Linked DNA regions of Homo sapiens: regions 1 and 2 are each linked to region 3. Evidence: promoter capture Hi-C in human tissues and cell types (Jung and others, 2019). All regions are on one chromosome and are shown on one strand. Each heading gives the region's core, a stretch centred on a gene start or on the middle of the fragment in contact. The rest is flanking DNA. Distances are from core to core; before and after follow the strand shown. Region 1 has its middle 8.2 kb from the start of SHANK3. Region 2 overlaps PPP6R2 (protein phosphatase 6 regulatory subunit 2). Region 3 holds the start of KLHDC7B (kelch domain containing 7B).

Region 1 (2,700 bases), core at 2-2,501, 120 kb before region 3:
TACAAACTGTTTCATTTCCTCATTCATTCTGGCCAGATGGCAGGCCTGGTTGAGATGCAAGGTGTCTGCCTTCAGAGGCTCACAGGTCAGTTCTCAGCCTCCTGGGCCATTGTGTGGACTAGATGAGGTACGTGTGTGTAAAATGCTTAGCACATGCCTAGTACCTGGTAAACACTCTAAATTTTATCATCATCAAAGCTAGTTCAGATTTTGGAGTGTATTCTGATGAGTGTGTTCTCCATATCTAGCAGCAAAACAGCAGCGTAAAGGGATGGCTGATCTTTGTTGTATATTCTTAGAAAGAGTGTTAAATTTAAAATACTGTTTTAACATTGAAATGTGGAATTAGCCGGCCAAGGTGGTTCACACCTGTAATCCCAGCACTTTGGGAAGCCAAGGTGAGCAGATCACTTGAGCTCAGAAGTTTAAGAACAACCTGAGCAACAAAGTGAGGCCCCGTCTCTACAAAATTACGGACATTTGCCAGACGTGGTGGCGCGTGCCTGTGGTCCCGGCTACTTGGGAGGCTGAGGCAGGAGGATCGCCTGAGCCTGGGTGGTCAAGGCTGCAGTGAGCCGAGATCACACCACTGCACTCCAGCCTGGGAGACAGAGCGAGACCCTGTCTCAAAGGAAAAAAAAACGTGAAATTAAAAGTGAGAAATATTTGTCTAGTTAATTTCACATTTAGGGTTCCGAGTATCTTTTCATTCAAGACGATGTGTTTTGCCTGTGTTTACCTCTCCACTCTCTCAAAGGCCACTGACAATTTAAGATCTATGTACCTATTTTTATTGTAGTGAAAAGCACATAACATGCAGTTCACCATCATAACCGTGTTTAAGGGTACAGCACAGGAGAGACAAAAAGAATGAATTCCCTGTTCTACTGATTTCCCCTTATCAGTGCTGCGCTTGACTAGTCTTATAAAATTAAAGATTTAAAAATTTTATATATATATATATATATTTTTTTTTTTTTTGATACAGAGTTTCATTCTGTCGCCCAGGCTGGAGTGCAATGGCACAATCTCGGCTCACTGCCACCTCTGCCTCCCAGGTTCAAGCAATTATCATACTTCAGCCTCCCTAGTAGCTGGGACTATAGGTATGCACCACCATGCCTGGCTAATTTTTGTAGTTTTAGTAGAGATGGGGTTTCACCATATTGGCCAGGCTGGTCTCGAACTCCTGGCCTCAAGTGATCCACCCACCTCGGCCTCCCAAATTGCTGGGATTACAGGCATGAGTCACCACACCTGGCCCTAGAACTATGTATATTTTTAAATAATAAATCCATCCTCATGTTAGAACCATCAAATGGGTTATGACTGGAATGACGCAGATGGGATCAGAGATGAAGAAGCCAACAAAAGCCAGAGAGTCGGCCATACCACAAGAAGGACGTCCGGGCTGCTGGGGAATGGCTTATTGGCCATTCACATAGCTTCTTTCGTGAAGTGTCTGTTCTAGTCTATTGCCATTTTTAAAAACTGAGTGGTTTGAGTTATTAAAATTTAGGAGCTCCTTATATAATCTGGATACAAGTTTTTTGTTGTTGTTGTTGTTTTGAGACGGAGTCTCCCCCTGTCGCCCGGGCTGGAGTGCAGTGGCGCGACCTCAGGTCACTGCAAGCTCCACCTCACGAGTTCCCGCCATTCTCCTGCCTCAGCCTCCCGAGTAGTTGGGACTACAGTGGCCCACCACCACACCCAGATAATTTTTTTGTATTTTTAGTAGAGATGGGGTTTCGCCGTGTTAGCCAGGATGGTCGTGATCTCCTGACCTCGTGATCCGCCCGCCTCGGCCTCCCAAAGTGCTGGGATTACAGGCGTGAGCCACCGCGCCTGGCCCTGGATACAAGTTTTTATAAGATATATGTATTGCAAAAGTTCTCTAATTTCTTGGCTTGCCGTTTCATTTTTGTAATAGCCTCTTTCAAAGAACAAAAGTCTTGCATTATTATAGAATTCAATTTATCTTTTTTGTTTAATCGTTCTCATATTCTTTGGGTTCACTCTAAAAAATCTTTGCCTACCACAAGATCACAAAAATATTTTCCTGTGTTTTATAGTTTTATTTTATTTCTTTTTTTTAAGAGATGGGGGGCCAGGCGTGGTGGCTCATACCTGTAATTCCTGGGAGGCCAAGGCGCATGGATCACCTGCGGTCAGGAGTTGGAGACCAGCCTGGCTAACATGGCAAAATCCCGTCTCCACTAAAAATACAAAAATTAGGTGGGCACGTTGGCGCACGCCTGCGTTACAGCAGGAGGATTACTTGAACCCAGGAGGCAGAGGTTGCAGTGAGCCGAGATCACGCCACTGCGCTCCAGCCTGGGCTACAGAGCGAGAATTCGTCTCAAAAAAAAAGAGATGGGGGTCTCACCATGTTGCCCAGGCTGTGTAGTTTTAGCATTTACATTTAGGCCTGTCATTAATTTCAAGTTAATTTTTGTTTTTGGTATCAAGAAAAGGTAGCTGTTCATATTTTTTTGGGGGGAGCATGTCCAGTTGTTTCAGAACCATTTTTAAGATTTTTAAATTTAGTTTTTATTGTGGTAAAATATACATAACAAAATTTACCATTTTAACAATTTTTAAGTATACAATTTTGTGGCATTAAGTGAATTCGCCACCATCTCCAGGACATTTTCATCACCCCGTATTAAACTATACTCACTGAACAATAAGTCCTCCAGT
Region 2 (2,700 bases), core at 45-2,544, 120 kb after region 3:
TTTTAGCAGAGACGGGGTTTCACTATGTTGGCCAGGATGGTCTCAATCTCCTGACCTCATGATCCACCCACCTCAGCCTCCCAAAGTGCTGGGATTACAGGCATGAGCCACTGCGCCCGGCCGGCCAGCTGGTTTTTAACAATTAGGCCGAGACCATTCATGGGGGAAAGGACGGTGTTTTTTTTTTTTTTTTTTGAAACAGAATCTCGCTCTGTCACCCAGGCTGGAGTGCAGTGGTGTGATCTTGGCTCACTGCAACCTCCGCCTCCCAGGTTCAAGTGATTCTCCTGCCTCAGCCTCCCAAGTAGCTGGGATTACAGGCGCTGCCACCATGCCTGGCTAATTTTTGTATTTTTTGTAGACATGGGGTTTCGCCACATTGGCCAGGCTGGTCACAAACTCCTGACCTCAGGTGATCTGCCTGCCTTGGCCTCCCAAAATACTGGGTTTACAGGCGTGAACCACCGTGCCCGGCCTAGGACAGTCTTTTCAACAAGTGCTGGGAAAACTGGATAACCCCATGCAAAAGAATGAAGCTGGACCCTTACTTTACACCAGATACAAAAATTAATTCAAAATGGATTAAAGACCTAAACATAAGAGAGAAAACATACAACTTTTTGAAGGAAGCATAGAGGAAAAGCTTCATGATACTGATTTGGCAATGACTTTTTTGGATATGACACCGAAAGCACAGGCAACAGAGAAAAAAAGATAATTGGATTTCATCAAAATTTAAAACTTGTGTGTCAAAGGTCATTATCAAGGAGTAAAGGCTGGGTGGCTGGTGGCTCACGCCTATAATTCCAGCACTTTGGGAGGCCACGGCCGGAGCATCACTTGAAGTCAGGAGTTCAAGGCCAGCCTGATCAACATAGCGAGACCCCATCTCTACAAAAAATATAAAAATTAGCTGGATGTGGTGGCGCATGCCTGCAGTCTTAGCTACTCAGGAGGCTGAGGTGGGAGGATCACTTGAGCCCAGGAGTTCAAGGTTACAGGAAGCTATGATCACTGTACTGCAAGACCCTACATCTAAAAAAAATTTTTTATGTAAAAAGATAACCCAAAGAAAATATTTGCATATATCTGATAAAGGATTAATATCCAGAATATATATAGAACTTCTAAAACTAAAAAAAAAAAACAAAAAAAAAACTCAATTCAAAAATGGTCAAAGGACTTGAATAGACATTTCTCCAACGAAGCTATTCACATGGCCAAAAAGCACGAGAAGATGCTCGACATCACTTGTCACACGGAGACACTGTTCCACACGCACATCAGATGACGAGCATCAGCCACACGGAGACACCGTTCCACACGCACATCAGATGACGAGCATCAGAAGAAGGAAGACAAGTGTCGGCGGGATGAGGGGGAGGATGAGGAGAAAGGGGAGACTTTGTTGACAGGAAGATAAAATGGTGCAGCCACTGTGGAAAGGTCTGGCCTCAAAACTTAATCATGGAATTGTCACATGACCTGGCCTCATAGGTATTTATCCAGAAGAACTTCTTCTTACTTTCAGAAGAACTGAAAGTAAGGACTCAAACAGGTATTTGTACACCCACATATACAGCAGTGTTATTCACAATAGCCAAGGCTGGAAGCAACCCAAGTCTCCACTGATGGATGGATGAATGGACAGAATGTGGCCCACCCACACAGTAATTTTTCAGCCTTAAAAAGGAAGGAAATTTGGACATACAGTACAATACTGAATGAACCTTGGGCACATAGTGCTAAGTGAAATAAGTCAGTCACAAAAAGATAATACTTTATGATTCCACTCATAAACTGTACCTAGAATAGTCAAATTCAGAGACAAAGACAATGGTGGTTGCCAGAGACTGTGGAGAGGGAGAATGAATGGGGAGTTAGTGTTTAACGGAGAGAGTTTCTGTTTGGGAAAATGAAAAACTTCTAGATGTGAATAATGGTAATGGCTATACAAGATTGTGAATGCACTGAGTGACACACCTTAAAATAGTTAAAACAGCCAAGTTTATGTTATGATATTTTACCACAGTAAATATAAAAGAGAGGAAGAAAGTGGAAGACAGAATTCTTTTGAAGAAGGAAAAGGGGCTGGGTGCAGTGGCTCAAGCCTGTAATCCCAGCACTTTGGGAGGCCAAGGCGGGTGGATCACGAGGTCAGGAGTTTGAGACCATCCTGGCCAACACGGTGAAACCCCGTCTCTACTAAAAATACAAAAAAAAATTAGCTGGGCATGGTGGCGCATGCCTGTAATCTCAGCTACTCGGGAGGCTGAGGCAGGAAAATCGCTTGAACCAGGGAGTCGGAGATTGCAGTGAGCCAAGGTCCCGCCACTGCACTCCAGCCTGGCGACAGAGAGAGACTCCATCTCAAAAAAAAAAAAAAAAAAAAAAAGAAGAAGAGGGAAAAGGAAAGTAGGTCTCTTTTGTAATTGCTTCCCTGATGCAGACTGGGATCTCACAGCCAAAGCAGTGCCCAGAACTCATACACGCTGACAGACGTTCCACACGCGGACAGACCTTCCACACGCTGACAGACGTTCCACACGCGGACGGACCTTCCACACGCTGACAGACGTTCCACACGCGGACGGACCTTCCACACGCGGACGGACCTTCCACACACTGACGGACCTTCCACACGCGGACGGACCTTCCACACGCGGACGGACCTTCCACACGCGGACAGACCTTCCACAC
Region 3 (2,722 bases), core at 50-2,549:
CCCCGAGGCCTCCCTGCTCCAGCCACCCTTGGCCCCAGAGCCTTCCGTCTGAGACCCAGGCTGCAGGGCGCGGGGAGCGGGCAGCGCCGGGAGTGCGGGCTCCTGGGCGAGTGGGGGTCCTGTGGGGAGGCCGCGCGCGTGGGCGTCCAGGGCGGCGGCCCCGTCCACCGCGTCCCACACGCTCCCCGCGGCGCCCAGGCGGAGCGGGTCCAGTTTCCGGGGGCGGCGGGCTCTGTCTCCCGAGCCAGCGTCCATCCGCCGCCGCCGGCCCCGGCCTCTCCCCATCGAGCCCGAGGGCCCCGCGCCCGCCTGCCAGGGGCCAGTGTCCTGTTGCCCCGCGGGGCCTGCGGCCTGGCGAGAGGACGCCCTGACACCACCTGTCTCCGCCTCCGCTTCGCTGCCAGGGCTCCGAGGAGTGAAGTGGATCAGGAGGGGGGCGGACATCCCCCCTGCTTCGCTCCTGCCCAGGAGGGCAGTGCCTGGCCTGGGAGGCTCCTTTCCTTCCGCTCGGGGGGCCGCGGGGGTGGCACTGCCCCGTTGCTGTCCTAATGCCTCTCTGCGGGCCTCCTCGACAGCCGTCTTGAGTGGAAGCCGGGCCATGGCGGCCAGGCCCCCGCCCGGCGCTGCAGCAGGGACAGGGCTCTGCTGGCCGCGTCCTGGGGGCTCTGGTTTCCCCTGCCCTGGGCTCTGCCCCTCGCTGCCATCACTGACCTTAGACTTCGGTTGCAGGGCCAGCTCAGCTCCTCCTGCCTGATGAGGTTGAGCCCCGAGGGCTGTGGACACCGGTTCTGCCGCCTCTTGATCGTGCCCGGAGCCAAACCAGTGTAAGGCCAGCGCTGTGGCAGCCACCACAGCCAGCGCCAGGAGGGCCAGCACAGCACTATCCCAGTCATTGTCACTGTCCCAGTCCCAGCCCCAGAGGGGACCATCTGGCTCCAAGGTGCCCTGGATCATGGTTCAGGGCTGCAATAGAGGCCTGATGGCAGGCTGGCAGTGCATGCAGAGCACAGAGGCCTGGGCTGAGGCACCGGCCAGCGCCTGCCCCAAGGGCTGCCCAGTTAAGGTGGACCAGTCCTCCAGGGCCTGGGAATGGTGGGGTCTCTGCTTGCACTCAGGCCTGGGGGTGTCAGTAGGGCCTGGCTGCAGATATCAGGAGACAGCGAGGCTTATGGCAGGATAGGAGCCCAGGGTCTCTGCAAGCACCCCACCAGCTCCTGCCCTCTTCTCCTCCTCGTAGGCCCCAGGGTCCTCAGGCAGCGTTCCTGAGCTCTGTGCTGTCATCACAGCCAACCTGCTTCTGCCTGGTAGACCCTCACACCCCTAAATTTATTCCACACCCCACAGTCCCTCCTCTCAGCCTGGGCCCAGCTTCAGGGGGCTTGGCAGGGAAGGGTTACCCACAGGGAGATGTTATCTCTAGCTCTAGCAATGTGATGTGGCCCTGATGAAATCACCAGAAACCGGAGAGGCTGATTCCACTGTGGGCCAGCAGGGGAGGGGTGGGGGCCGTGCACGGGAGGGTGCAGGCTGTGCCTGACGGTGGTCTCTCAGGCTGAAGAGGGAGACCCTGGACACGGGTCCTGGCAGTGAGCATTATCATTGCAGGGGTGCTGTGGAGGTTTGTACTGGGGCACAGGGAGGGGGCATAGAGAGGAGACTGAGGCTCCCATAGCTCCTCCTCCAGCAGCTTTTGGACTCCTTACTCTGGGTTTACCAGACATGGGATAGGGTTATCAAGTCAAGAGAAAAAAAAAATTAATGGGATAAATAAAATCCAAACATATTTCTCTCTTTATGGCCAGGCTTATTTCAGCCCACCTAGACCTTCTAGGATCTCCTGGACCCCCTGCGCCCATCGAGAGTGTCTTGACTGCCCAGATGAGACTCTCACTGTGCCCCTGGAGAACCCTGAGCCCAGCCTGCCCCCTACTCCAGTTACCGCATCAGCCAGCACCTGGATCCCTTAGAAACCACCCCCCTCTGGCCCCAGGTGCTCTAATAGCCAGACTCTGGGTGTCTTCATCTCAGTCCTCAGCCTTCCCTTATCTGAGCTGAGGACTCGCCCTCGAGACCACATCCTGGCTGGTACCTCCTAGCCCTGGCTCAGGCCGGCATGTAGGTACTTCTGTTGGATGTGAGCACTTGCTTCCTGAGGGAGAAGCCTGGGCTCCTCCACCTGCTCCTTGCTTAATCCCATCTCAGGAGTGTCTCGGGCCAGGTGCCAGGTGAGGCTCAGACAAGAAAAAGAGCCTGGAGTCCCTGGGACAAAGGCAGGGCTCCCTGGAAAGTACCGTGTGTATTTTTCCTTCCTCTGGGACACAGCAGGCCTGGGGATTTCTCCCTTACTCAAGCAGCAAGGAGATGGCCTAGGAGTGTCCCTGGCACCCAGCCTGAACCCTACTGAGCCTCAGGTAACTCACCTCCCAGCTCCCCCTGGGACTATTAGATGACAGGGAGAGGGTGAGGGTGGGCCCCATGCCTTAAGGTGGACCTCAAGTTGAGGGAAGGCTTTCTAGACCGTGCCCTTATTCTCTGTCCCAGTCTCAGGCTCTGCCTCTTGGTTAAGTTTGGGGTCCAGAAACCTTCAGAGGATGGAGATGACACCCATAAATATTAGAGACTGAGTAGGGGGCGGGAAGCGGTGGCGGCAGCGCACCCCCGGGGTGCAACTGCCCTGGAACTCCAAGTGGTGGCTTCAAAACTGGATTAAAATTTATTTCCG

What was found. The method cuts DNA at HindIII sites, captures the fragments that hold promoters and counts their contacts. A contact is called where the count stands out against the background at its distance.
Region 1: a contact is called between a fragment that was not itself captured here and the fragment with the promoter of KLHDC7B in region 3, in 3 of the 25 tissues and cell types used here (H1 embryonic stem cells, dorsolateral prefrontal cortex and lymphoblastoid cells).
Region 2: a contact is called between a fragment that was not itself captured here and the fragment with the promoter of KLHDC7B in region 3, in 2 of the 25 tissues and cell types used here (IMR-90 fibroblasts and dorsolateral prefrontal cortex).

What each region holds. Positions count from the first base shown.
Region 1 is chr22:50,663,266-50,665,965 of GRCh38, reverse strand. No RefSeq gene overlaps it. Among named protein-coding and RNA genes, the nearest start is that of SHANK3, 8.2 kb to the left of the region's middle. The HindIII fragment of the contact is 5,475 bases long and covers 1-2,700 here.
Region 2 is chr22:50,424,329-50,427,028 of GRCh38, reverse strand. All of the region lies in intron 10 of PPP6R2 (protein phosphatase 6 regulatory subunit 2), which reads right to left. Among named protein-coding and RNA genes, the nearest start is that of MIR12114, 18 kb to the right of the region's middle. The HindIII fragment of the contact is 3,827 bases long and covers 1-2,700 here.
Region 3 is chr22:50,544,476-50,547,197 of GRCh38, reverse strand. KLHDC7B (kelch domain containing 7B) reads right to left here and starts at 1,299. Exons shown (of 1, transcript NM_138433.5): 1 at 1-1,299. The coding sequence starts at 954. KLHDC7B-DT (KLHDC7B divergent transcript) reads left to right here. Exons shown (of 4, transcript NR_199716.1): 2 at 730-824; 3 at 1,803-2,411. RefSeq lists a silencer at 2,684-2,722. The HindIII fragment of the contact is 12,740 bases long and covers 1-1,672 here.